4 separate regions of the Homo sapiens genome follow, and regions 2, 3 and 4 are each linked to region 1. Evidence: promoter capture Hi-C in 16 types of primary human blood cells and fetal thymus (Javierre and others, 2016). All regions are on one chromosome and are shown on one strand. Each heading gives the region's core, a stretch centred on a gene start or on the middle of the fragment in contact. The rest is flanking DNA. Distances are from core to core; before and after follow the strand shown. Region 1 holds the start of PEX5L-AS2 (PEX5L antisense RNA 2). Region 2 overlaps CCDC39 (coiled-coil domain 39 molecular ruler complex subunit). Region 3 overlaps CCDC39 (coiled-coil domain 39 molecular ruler complex subunit). Region 4 overlaps TTC14-DT (TTC14 divergent transcript).

Region 1 (2,720 bases), core at 162-2,661:
ATGTTTTGATCCCTAGAGTAAACCTACCTTCTAAATACTTAAAGCCCTTTGAAAGCACAAGATAATGATGTAATTGTATCCTTTTTGTTGCATGGAAACGATCAAGCTTTATTAAGTTCTGAGTTAATATCAACCCTGGCTCTTAATTCCCTTTTCCAATATTAGACCCCCATATGTCGGTTTTCGTTTCTCTGCCTGTGATAGGTCTGTCTGCTACATTTGTATTTTAAGTAGATTTACAACACAAATATTCATATCTTTTCTTAGTATAAAATTATTTTCTTCAGGGAGGCTTTACCCAGAGACCTGAGAAAATTGAAGTTTTTGTTTTTAAAGTATTTAAGGATTATTTAATTTTTACATAGTATGAAATTTTTCTAATTGGGATGGAAAGGTAATATTTTGGGGGGCTTTCCCATTATACCATATCTAGTCTCAAAAAATGTAATAATCTGGTAAACTCAAATAACAGAAAGCCACCATATCCCTTTACAGTTTATAATTCTACTTCTTTGAGACAAATAACATAGGGATATGTATGTGTTTGTATACATATTATCTATATATATACATATACATTTGTATCTATAGATATATAGAGAGATATAGATTAGTGCCACAATATTAATTATCCTTTACGTCAGTTATGGATTATCCTTTACGTATTAATTATCCTTTATGTCTGTATTTATGGGGTTCTTCAGTTAAAAGACACTTCTAAAACTCTATTAAAATTATTTGGTCTCAAAAACATTGAAAGTTGCAAAATGTTTTTTTCATGAAGTTTATACCATCTCCACAAAACAGACTGGGTGAATTACTGTTATGTCAAGCCACTGGAGGATTTTTAGATATTTTGCAACATTTTTACTCTTTTTATCCCAATCCACTCAAAAATGGCAAAGACTCCAGAGATCACCCAGCAAAAGCCCTCTGTGGGAGTTGGATCCTGCTTCTAATCTCTATCCCAAACTCCTGTCATTCAAAATATTTAGGAATTATGTAGTAATAATTTATAAATGAACGTAGCAGGCAACCCATAGTGTTTTTAAATTGATATTACAAAAAATTCATGTCATGTTAATTTCCTTAAAACATATTATACATATAAAATACTATGTTAAAATTAAATGTAATATGTCAGCTGTAAAGGGGAAAAAGTAGCTAACTAAAAGTTCACAAATAATCTTTTTTCAGATTTTGTGTGTTTTCTCCTCAGCCAAAAGCCTCAAGATTCACTTGCAGCAGCCTACCTCTTCATTTATGTTGGATTGCTCTTTAAACATTAGAATATCTTGTAATAAATAATAAGTTAAAGATCTCTCCTGACACAGTCATTGTTGATTTCACTGTTATAGGGAAAAGGCTCTAGGGCGGCAGATAAGGCTGTTGCCATGGTGATGAAGGAGATACCGAGGGAGGAGTCTGCTGAAGAAAAGCCCCTCCTTACTATGACATCACAGGTGGGCAGACCCATAGGGTTTCTGTAGGAAGCTGACATATGTTAATATATCAGACATTGTGATTTTTAACTAGAAAAAAAAAACTTTAACTCTTGAACCAATTTTTTTAAAGACAGTTTCAATGAAACAATTATACAAATATAGATGAAAACCAAAATTGCTAAAAAAAGAAAAATTCACCATCTAGTTATTTATTTGTGAATATTAATTTCATTACTCAACTTTAGTTAAGACAAAAGAGAAAGAGAATATATGTGCAAGTAAAACATGTTGCTTCTTTATAAAGGAGTCTTGTTAAAAACTTTGGGAAAGAAATAACAATTAAGCTAACAGTACATTTGAACAAAAAAAAATCAAATTCCTATGAATAAAAACAAGTTATATTGTATACATATGTCAGTTTACCAGTAGAATATCTAAATTTTCTTAAATGTTAAATATATTTATGTTGTGACTATGCATACTACATATATGTCTATACATATTTATGTGGATAACTAATTTACAGGAATGAGCCAGAAGTCCCTGAGTCCCCATGCAGAAAATGGCATTTGTGACCCCTCTTATACATAGTGACCTTGAGAACAAAAATGTCATCTCTATTATAAGCACATGAGAGCCATTTTCAGCATTTATTATAACAAGTATAGAAAAAAGTCTTCATTTGTATGCAAAGACATGTGGAGACTGTGAATCCTATATGTCCTCGGGGACTTTTGAAACACCCTGTAAAATCTACATAAATATGTATAATGTACTCATCACCACTCTGTGGAACTACCAGTTTTAAAATCGCAAATGAGAAATATTTTTACTTGCATTTATCTTATAATTTAGATTAGATTATTTTAAACATTTCATTTTTTCCATTCAGTTCCGATTATATGATTCAGTTCCGATTATATGAACATGCCTAGAATTCGAAAAATGTCCATTTACAGTCCTCATGAAAGACATTTATATCAAAAGCTAAATTATGGCAACTTATTTTTAGAATATCAGCGGATCTCATCCCCAGCTGCTGCCAACATGTGTGGTTTTACTTTATTCTAAATACTATGTTGTAAGTTATAAAAATTATAACATATAACATCAAAATTAAATAATTTTTAAAGCTATTAAAGATTCCCAAGACTTTGGGATACATTTTATGTTTTCAGCTTTTTTTATCCCAAAAGAAGAGATGCTACTTCCTAATAACACATGGTAATCATTGGAAAGAAATTTGCTTGATATTTACCAAATTCCTCATTCTTT
Region 2 (2,720 bases), core at 153-2,652, 770 kb before region 1:
ACTAAAAATACCAAAAAAAAAAAAAAATTAGCCAGGTGTAGTGGTGGGCACCTGTAATCCCAGCTACTCAGGAGGCTGAGACAGCAGAATCTCGTTGAACTCGGGAGGCAGAGGTTACAGTGAGCCGAGATCGCGCCACTGCACTCCAGCCTGGGTGACAAGAGCAAGACTCCATCTCAAAAAAAAAAAAAAGATCTCTTGTGGTTTAATAATGGAGTAGAATCTCATTTTTGCCCTATAAAAATATAGTATTGCTGTATGAAAAATGCATTTTTGAGTAGATCTGCTACCGCTGCAAATCTAAGAGAGATTTCCATTCCGTGTAATATGGTGCTAATTTTCCCACAGCAATCTCCAAATCACAACACTATTTTATAACATTTAAAGAATTAGTAGATTTTAGAAGTTCATGTGGACATTTAAAGAAACAAAATGCTATGTTTTTAATGTTTGTGTCCTCCCAAAATTCATATGGTGGTCTCAATCCTCAATGTGATGGTATTTCGAGGTGAAGCCTTTGAGAAGTAAACAGGTCATAGAGGTAGAGCCCTCATGAATGGTGTTGGTGCTCTTTTAAGAAAAGACAAGAGGGAGATGATCTCTTTCTCTGTCATGTGAAGATACAGCAAGAAGGCATCTGTCTGCAAATAAGAAAGAGGGCCCTCACCAGGAATCATATTAGTTGGCACCTTGATCCTGGACTTCCTAGCCTTCAGAACTGTGAGGAATTTCTCATGAATCAAATTAAATTTTGTTTAAGCTACCTAGTCTATGATATTTTTGTTATAGCAGTCCAAATTGACTAAGACAATGTAAATGAAAATTTAATTTTCTTTGATTTTAGGTCCTTCATATGGTAAAACTTAATAGGACTTTGGTTAATCATAGTATTTATTATTTACAGTTGTCAAAGCTGAAGGATGAAAGAGCAAGCTTGCAAGATGAGTTACGTGAGTATGAAGAGCGAATTAATTCTATGACTTCTCACTTCAAAAATGTTAAGCAAGAGCTCTCAATTACACAGGTACAGTAACTGAAATTTATGTTGATTATATCGTGTAGTCATGGAACATCTCATAGTATATTTACATCTGCGATTTTTACAGCTATAATAGGAAACCTTAGCATAATTAAACTATTGTGAACATAACCTTGAACATGAAAGTAGATAGAAAAAGGCTTAGAGGAACTAACTACTGGTCCAATTTTTTTTTTTTTTTTGAGATGAAGTCTCGCTCTGTTTCCTAGGCTGGAGTACAGTGGCGTGATCTCAGCTCACTGCAACCTCTGCCTCCTGGGTTCAAAAGATTCTCATGCCTCAGCCTCCCGAGTAGCTGGGATTATAGGCACCCACCACCCCCAGCTAATTTTTGTATTTTTGGTAAAGATGGGATTTCACCATGTTGGTCAGGCTGGTCTCGAACTCCTGACCTCAGGTGATCCTCCCGCCTCAGCCTCCCAAAGTGCTGCGACTGCTCCAATTTTAACCAAAAAATTAATCCATATGAAAGGAGAAATCATTATTCAAACAATCTGTATTAGACAGCAGGTTATTTGAGAAAGGTACAATGATGGTGGTGAGAAATGATGGCTATAAGCAGAAACAGAACTAATATAATACATAATAAAATTTCTGTCTCCTTTTTAATTTTTCAGCACAACTCACTGGGGCCATTTTGAGTGGAGGCCAGTAGTCTACACATCTTAGCATTGTTCAAGAATTGAAATTCATAATAATAATCCTGAGATTAAAAAGTTAGATTATACTTAAGAGACTTTATTTAAGATAACTGGGGAAGACATTAGGCATCTTAGAAATGTTAACATAAATATAATAAAAATTAAAACTTGTGGTTATTAAGTAAGCTTCATAATCTGTTCAAGTGTAGAAACTCACTCCCTAATGATGCCCAGCAAACCAGGCAGCTCAGCAAACAGCATTGGAGAGTTTTCTAACTTCTGTCTCAAACTAGTTTTTTTAAAGTGCATCTACTGTCTGAGAAATAGTATGTAGTTTCAAAAAAATGAACAGTGCCATATTTTAAAAAGCAATTTATAATCAATATAGATAAGTATTTCATGACTTACAAGTCTTATTAGAAAGTTACAAATTTAATAAACTTAAAAACAAACTCAGAATTCTTGAATCTCAATGTGATTGAGTAATTGATAAACTATTTGGAACAACACTTTTCCTTAAGTTGTTAAACTACTGAGCTGGGGATTGGAGAGGCAGAGACTCTGTAGTTGTATCTTATTATCATCAAACCTCAAATGAATAGAGTAATAGAGACAAAAGAATAATAAACCTCCAACAATGGTAGCTTTAGTACTGTAAAATTAATACTAAGTGATAACTTTGAAGCACTGTAAAATTAGTTAACACATACTCTTTTATTACATAAAACTGAACATAAAGATGTGATTATATGCTAATATATTCTAGAGAATATTCACAACCATTGGTGTTTAAATAATTATTTAAAAATAATGTCTGTTAATTAGAATATGTGATCAATTCATATAAAACATGTCATTTCTCAACTGTTTTTTAATGGATATTTCTTATTTGTAGATAATAAGTTTTAAGTCTAACTGAAACTTTGGTTTTCTTTAGTTTTCCTAGACCAGCGTAGTATCTGAAAACTATTGACAGTATTTTCTCCTAGCACAGTTCATTGACTTTCTTACAACTAGTGAGCAACACCAACTATATTGTA
Region 3 (2,720 bases), core at 75-2,574, 740 kb before region 1:
GGCGGGTGGATCATGAGGTCAGGAGATCGAGACCATCCTGGCTAACATGGTGAAACCCCATCTCTACTAAAAATACAAAAAATTAGCCGGGCGTGGTGGCGGGCGCCTATAGTCCCAGCTACTCCGGAGGCTGAGGCAGGAGAATGGCGTGAACCCAGGAGGTGGGGCTTGCAGTAAGCGGAGATCGCACCACTGCGCTCCAGCCTGGGCGACAGAGTAAGACTCCGTCTCAAAAAAAAAAAAAAATTATCTCTGTCATAAATATTGTAAATATTTTCCCCATTTACCTTTACATTTTTATTCAGTGTTTGTGACACAAAACTTTTTTTAAAACATCAAATCTCTTAGTTTTTTTTTCTTTTTAATTTTTATGCTTAGAAACTTCTTGGTTACACTAAAAATCAGACAAATGTTTACTATTTCTAGTAGTTACGTTGATTTCATCTCTTAAGATTTTTCATTCATCTAGAATATATTTTTGGTGCACGTGAGATGTAAGTATCTAATCTCTCCAAATGAAAAGCCACGTTTATGAAACAATAAAATCTTATATCCTGGAGTGTTTTTTTCTGGGGTTTCTATTCTGAAAATTGATTGATATGTGTACTCTTATGTCAGTACTCTATTCACGACTGAATTGTTTTAAAATAAAAATATATTTCCACATTATTTTGTGAGATTCAGAGTATAAAAATGGCCATTCATAGGGCTTTATGTTTTTTGGATAGCGTAAGTTTAACTTCAGGAATAACTTCTTCCCTTTGTTTTTTATAATAGCAAAGCTTGACTTTAAAATTGAATTATGAAAAAGATTTGGAATAACTATAAACCCTTTTCTTAAAAGAAAAAAAAAAACTATGATCAATTTTAGGCCTAGCTAATATCTTAGTCAATGGTTAAATTGGAAAAAGGTATATTTTCAAGTTTTACTTATATAGCAATAAAAAAAATTTTGGTTTTGCAATTAAAAATAATTTCAATATTTGACCATTTTGTTACGTTGATAGGATTTGATGATAGAGGACAATCTTTTAAAACTTGAAGTTAAGCGTACTCGAGAAATGCTTCACAGTAAGGCAGAAGAAGTTCTTTCCCTAGAAAAAAGAAAACAGCAATTATACACAGCAATGGAAGAGCGAACTGAAGAAATCAAGGTTCATAAAACAATGCTTGCGTCACAAATAAGATATGTTGATCAAGAACGGGAAAACATAAGGTAATTTTCAGTTTTAAAACTGCTGAGGAATTAAAAAAACAGGATGATGTCAGGAGAACTAGCTGCCCCCTCTAACATCCCGGATGTGCATCGTTTTTACTCATTCGAAATGGCTTTTCATATAAGAAAGACATAGGGCATGTTATAGCCATAAATCTAGGCTCTTCTTTTGGTTAATTCTTCATTCTTTAGATTGTCCCTTTTACATTAAGATCACTAATCTACTTGGAATTGCTTTTTATGTATGGTTTGTGGTAAAGTCCAATAACACGTCTTTTTAAAAATAGATATTCAATAGCTGCATCTATTGAAGTGATTTTGCACATCTTTTATAAGATTATTTCTGGCTACATGTTTTTTCTTTAATGTTACTGTCAATTTCATTTTTGGTTTGCTGCTGGTATGTAGAAATGCAGTTAATTTCTGTATATTAAGTATTCAGCAACCCTGCTTAACAATCTTGTTCTAACAATCAGTACATTCTAATTTTCTATATACTGTATTTCATTTATATTATTTTCAAATAATAACAGTTTTATTTCTTGCTTTCCAATCTTTATAACTTTTCTTTTTTCCCCAGTTCAATACTGAAGAGCAGTGTTGATTACAGGTATCCTTGTCTTATTATCTGATCTCAAAGGGAAAGCTTTCATTGTTTTTGCATTAAATATAAGGTTTACTGTAGTTTATTTCTATTTTTTAGATACCTTTTACCACATTGAGCTCCTATCTATTTTTATCCTTTACTAAGAAGTTATTTTGTTTAATCAAGAATGGATGTTGACTTTTATTATATGCTTTCTCAGCACTTATTGACAAGATGTATCTTCTTCAATCTGTTGTGTTTAATCATATTGATCAATTTTTCAAAGTCAAACCAACCTTACATTCTAGAATAAACCCAACTTGTCTGTTACATATTATCTTTTGCATACATCTAGATTTTGTTAGGGAATATTTTAATACAATTTTTGCATCTATGTTCATGTGTATAAATGACCCATAATTCTCCTTGCTCTACTGTCCTTGTCAGGGTATCAGGCTATTAAGGTTATGTCTGACTTCATAAAATGACTTGTGTGTATTTCTTATTTTTCTATACATTGAATATGTTTCTAAAAGAGTGGAATTATATCTTTTTTGTTTTTCAAAGACCCCACTGGAAAAAAAAGCCATTGGGAGCCTGAAGTTTTCTATGGGGGAACATTTTCAACTATTGGTTTATATACTGTTTATAGGACAATGCAGATTTTGTATTTATTATTGATTCTGTTTTGGTAAATTCTATTTTTCTCTAGGAAAAATTTTCTATATTTATCCAAATTTCAAATTTATTGCCATACAGTTGTTTATAATTTTATTAGTTAATAGTTGTAGTATTTTTAGAGATGATTCCTTTTATATTCCTGACATTGGTTATTTGTGCATTCTTTTGGGGTAGGATAATTCTCACCACAAGTTAATCAGTATTAACATTATTTGGAAAGGATCTGCTCTTATTGCT
Region 4 (2,720 bases), core at 122-2,621, 690 kb before region 1:
AAGCAATTTACAAAGTAATATGTAGCTATCTTATTGAAAGGAAAGGTAAAAAAAGCATCATAGACAGCTAAAAAGAAATGATCTTCTGTATCATTTTAAAGATGTGATGATTAAATACTTGCATACTTCACTTTGTCTTATCTGCACATACACAGCTGCAATAAAAATCTCCATCTACCCTATCAGTGTGATCTGAGAGAACGGAATACTATGTCTACTTGGTTAAAGCTTTTCTTCTCTAAACATCAGGACGATTTAAGGAAAATACACATCTAAGCTCAGTTCTAATAGTTCCTTGCCACTCACTTGGAAAAATTCACTGTGGGTTGCAAGTTCATGTAGTAGTATACCTGGTTAAAATACAGCAGCTCTACCATTGTTACCTCATCATACTATAATTTCTTTGGGACGTGAACTTAAATTTATACAAGATTTTATTATAAAATGCTATCTAATTTAGGGATACTTAAATTTTTTTGGTTTTTTTGTTGTTGTTGGTTTTTGTTTTTGTTTTTTTTTTTTTTGACAGAGTCTTGCTCTGTTGCCCAGGCTTGAGTGCAGTGGCACGATCTTGGCTCACTGCAACCTCCACCTCCCGAGTTCAAGCGATTCTCCTGCCTCACCCTCCTGAGTAGCTGGGACTACAGGCCTGCGCCACCACACCTGGCTAACTTCTGAATATCAAGCTGAAATTACTATCAGATATCTTGCCACCACATAGAGGCTTTGAGTGAAGTCTGCATGGAGGAGAACAGAGCTGAGAGATGGAAAGATACTGAATCCCAGTGACGTCCTTTGAGATGTCGGATCAAGCTGAGCTGGGCATGAAGATAGAGCTACTCCTATACTTTTAAGATACGTAAGTTAATGAATTCCCTTGTTTGCTTGGATTAGCTTGATTATATTTTCTGTTACCTGCAGCAAGAGTCCTACTACCTTGAGTATTTCACACTTGCTCTCCAGATTCACTCTCTATTTTTTTTTCCAACCTTCTCTGTGCCTGGGGACTTACCTGTAAGGATTGTATCAAACAACACATTTGCCCTCTGGCTTCTGATTGTGTTCAGCCAGTGGCAATCTCCCTAGAGAGGGAGGTCAGAACATATATACTCTAGGGGCTCTCCCTGCTAGATCACAAAAGGTTGAATGGTTCTTCTTTTAAAGGCTATTGATCCTGTCAAGTTCCCTTTCCTCTCCAGGTTTGAGTAGCCATCTTCTCCCTGTACACATCAGATCCAGGGGTGTTATACCTTCTCACAATTGCAAGCTCTGGAATAAAACATTATCCCTAACAGGTTTCCCTTAGCCCTTCCCATATTTCTGTAAATAGCGCCTCTATTAAATTCTTCTCAATTATACAGTTTGAGTGAGCCGTCTCTTTCTGCCAGGAGCCAGAGTGATACATACTCCTTTCATTTTGGTATTCAAAATAAGTGGAAAATGCAGTAATTTTAAAAGACAAAATCAGATTAGCCATTTGAACAATTTGTTGCTTGATAGTGAATGCCCAATTTAGTATCATGATAAGATTTTAGAATTTTTGCAATACATGGAATTTTAGGAAGTCGGTGGTGAAGGGAACTGAAGGCTGTTGGCATCTACATGAGTGGGGACTTACTCTAAGATTTTGGATTATTTTCTAGTCTACCACTCACAGAAACTACCTTTTAGTGCAACCACGGTGGAACCCTGCCATAGTATCTCTAGGTAAGCATCACTATGCTCTTATAAATTTATATTTTCACTTCTCCAGGTCTTAAAAAGAGGACTGCTTGAATTTTTTGTGAATAAATGAATAAAGGAAATAATTTTAAGATGCACACTGAAATCTACACTCAGTGAATTTACATCTCATGATTTATAAGAACGAACTTTCCTTAGGTCTTTATATAGTTCAGAAGGACACAGCAACAAGTATGCTAATTTCAAATTTTTTCACTGAAGCAAGTTCTGAAGAAGTCAACTAGGTATCATGTAATTACTCTGTATATTTTAGGTGTTAAGATTAATTTAAGATGATTTATCACTCTAACTTTTTACCATGTTAGGCTTTTCTTCAATTAGTCTGAATTCATGAGCCCTGATGAGCTTTTTTAGTGATACAATATTTAAAAGATTAACTACATTGAACATATGTAATGGATTAATAGCAGTGTCTATTCAATATTAGCTTGAGGCTGTGGAGTATATTAAATCGTCAACATGAAGCAAAATGTTATTTCTGCTTTGAATGGAGAATACTAAATTAGTCAAGACACTTTCTCATCTCATCTGCCTTTCCCTGGCTCTTCACTTATAGTAGCAGTATTTTATATTGGACAACAGTTCAAACTAGTAATAAATATATGATTGCCATATTCTTCTGAACCACAATATCTACTAATGTTGCTAATCAAACAAAATATTTGGATTGCCCCAACCTAAGAAAAAAAAATTTAAGCCATAAAGTTGATAGGCGTATCCTGTCATATGTGTAGCATACTTCCTTTCAATCCATTTCAACAGCAAGCTTAAAAAATACGTGCCAGTCTTCAGGGAAATATAATAGATAAAATAGATAAGAATATTAATGTTATAATTAACATTACATAAGAGTTCTGTAATAGGAATTAGGGATTCAGTTTATGAAAGTCAAAAGGTGGTGATAAGTAGCATATTTTCACCTTCCAAATAAAGGAAAAGCTCAAACTTGACAAATACAAACATGGTAGGGTTTTTTT

What was found. Contacts are between HindIII fragments. The CHiCAGO score rates a contact against its expected background, and 5 or more counts as called.
Region 2: a fragment that was not itself captured here is called in contact with the fragment with the promoter of PEX5L-AS2 in region 1 in 1 of 17 cell types (endothelial precursors); the score reaches 6.8 in endothelial precursors.
Region 3: a contact is called between a fragment that was not itself captured here and the fragment with the promoter of PEX5L-AS2 in region 1, in 1 of 17 cell types (endothelial precursors). The highest score is 6.1, in endothelial precursors.
Region 4: a fragment that was not itself captured here is called in contact with the fragment with the promoter of PEX5L-AS2 in region 1 in 2 of 17 cell types (endothelial precursors and M2 macrophages); the score reaches 9.5 in endothelial precursors.

Annotation. Positions count from the first base shown.
Region 1 is chr3:179,896,885-179,899,604 of GRCh38, reverse strand. It overlaps PEX5L-AS2 (PEX5L antisense RNA 2), which reads right to left and starts at 1,411. Exons shown (of 3, transcript NR_110059.1): 1 at 1,254-1,411. It overlaps PEX5L (peroxisomal biogenesis factor 5 like), which reads left to right. Exons shown (of 15, transcript NM_016559.3): 3 at 1,359-1,463. The HindIII fragment of the contact is 5,337 bases long and covers 109-2,720 here.
Region 2 is chr3:180,662,171-180,664,890 of GRCh38, reverse strand. CCDC39 (coiled-coil domain 39 molecular ruler complex subunit) reads left to right here. Exons shown (of 20, transcript NM_181426.2): 2 at 905-1,024. Among named protein-coding and RNA genes, the nearest start is that of CCDC39, 16 kb to the left of the region's middle. The HindIII fragment of the contact is 933 bases long and covers 936-1,868 here.
Region 3 is chr3:180,640,489-180,643,208 of GRCh38, reverse strand. CCDC39 (coiled-coil domain 39 molecular ruler complex subunit) reads left to right here. Exons shown (of 20, transcript NM_181426.2): 13 at 1,008-1,216. Among named protein-coding and RNA genes, the nearest start is that of CCDC39, 38 kb to the left of the region's middle. The HindIII fragment of the contact is 1,080 bases long and covers 785-1,864 here.
Region 4 is chr3:180,582,487-180,585,206 of GRCh38, reverse strand. TTC14-DT (TTC14 divergent transcript) reads left to right here. Exons shown (of 3, transcript NR_183700.1): 2 at 550-859. Among named protein-coding and RNA genes, the nearest start is that of TTC14-DT, 18 kb to the left of the region's middle. The HindIII fragment of the contact is 2,281 bases long and covers 231-2,511 here.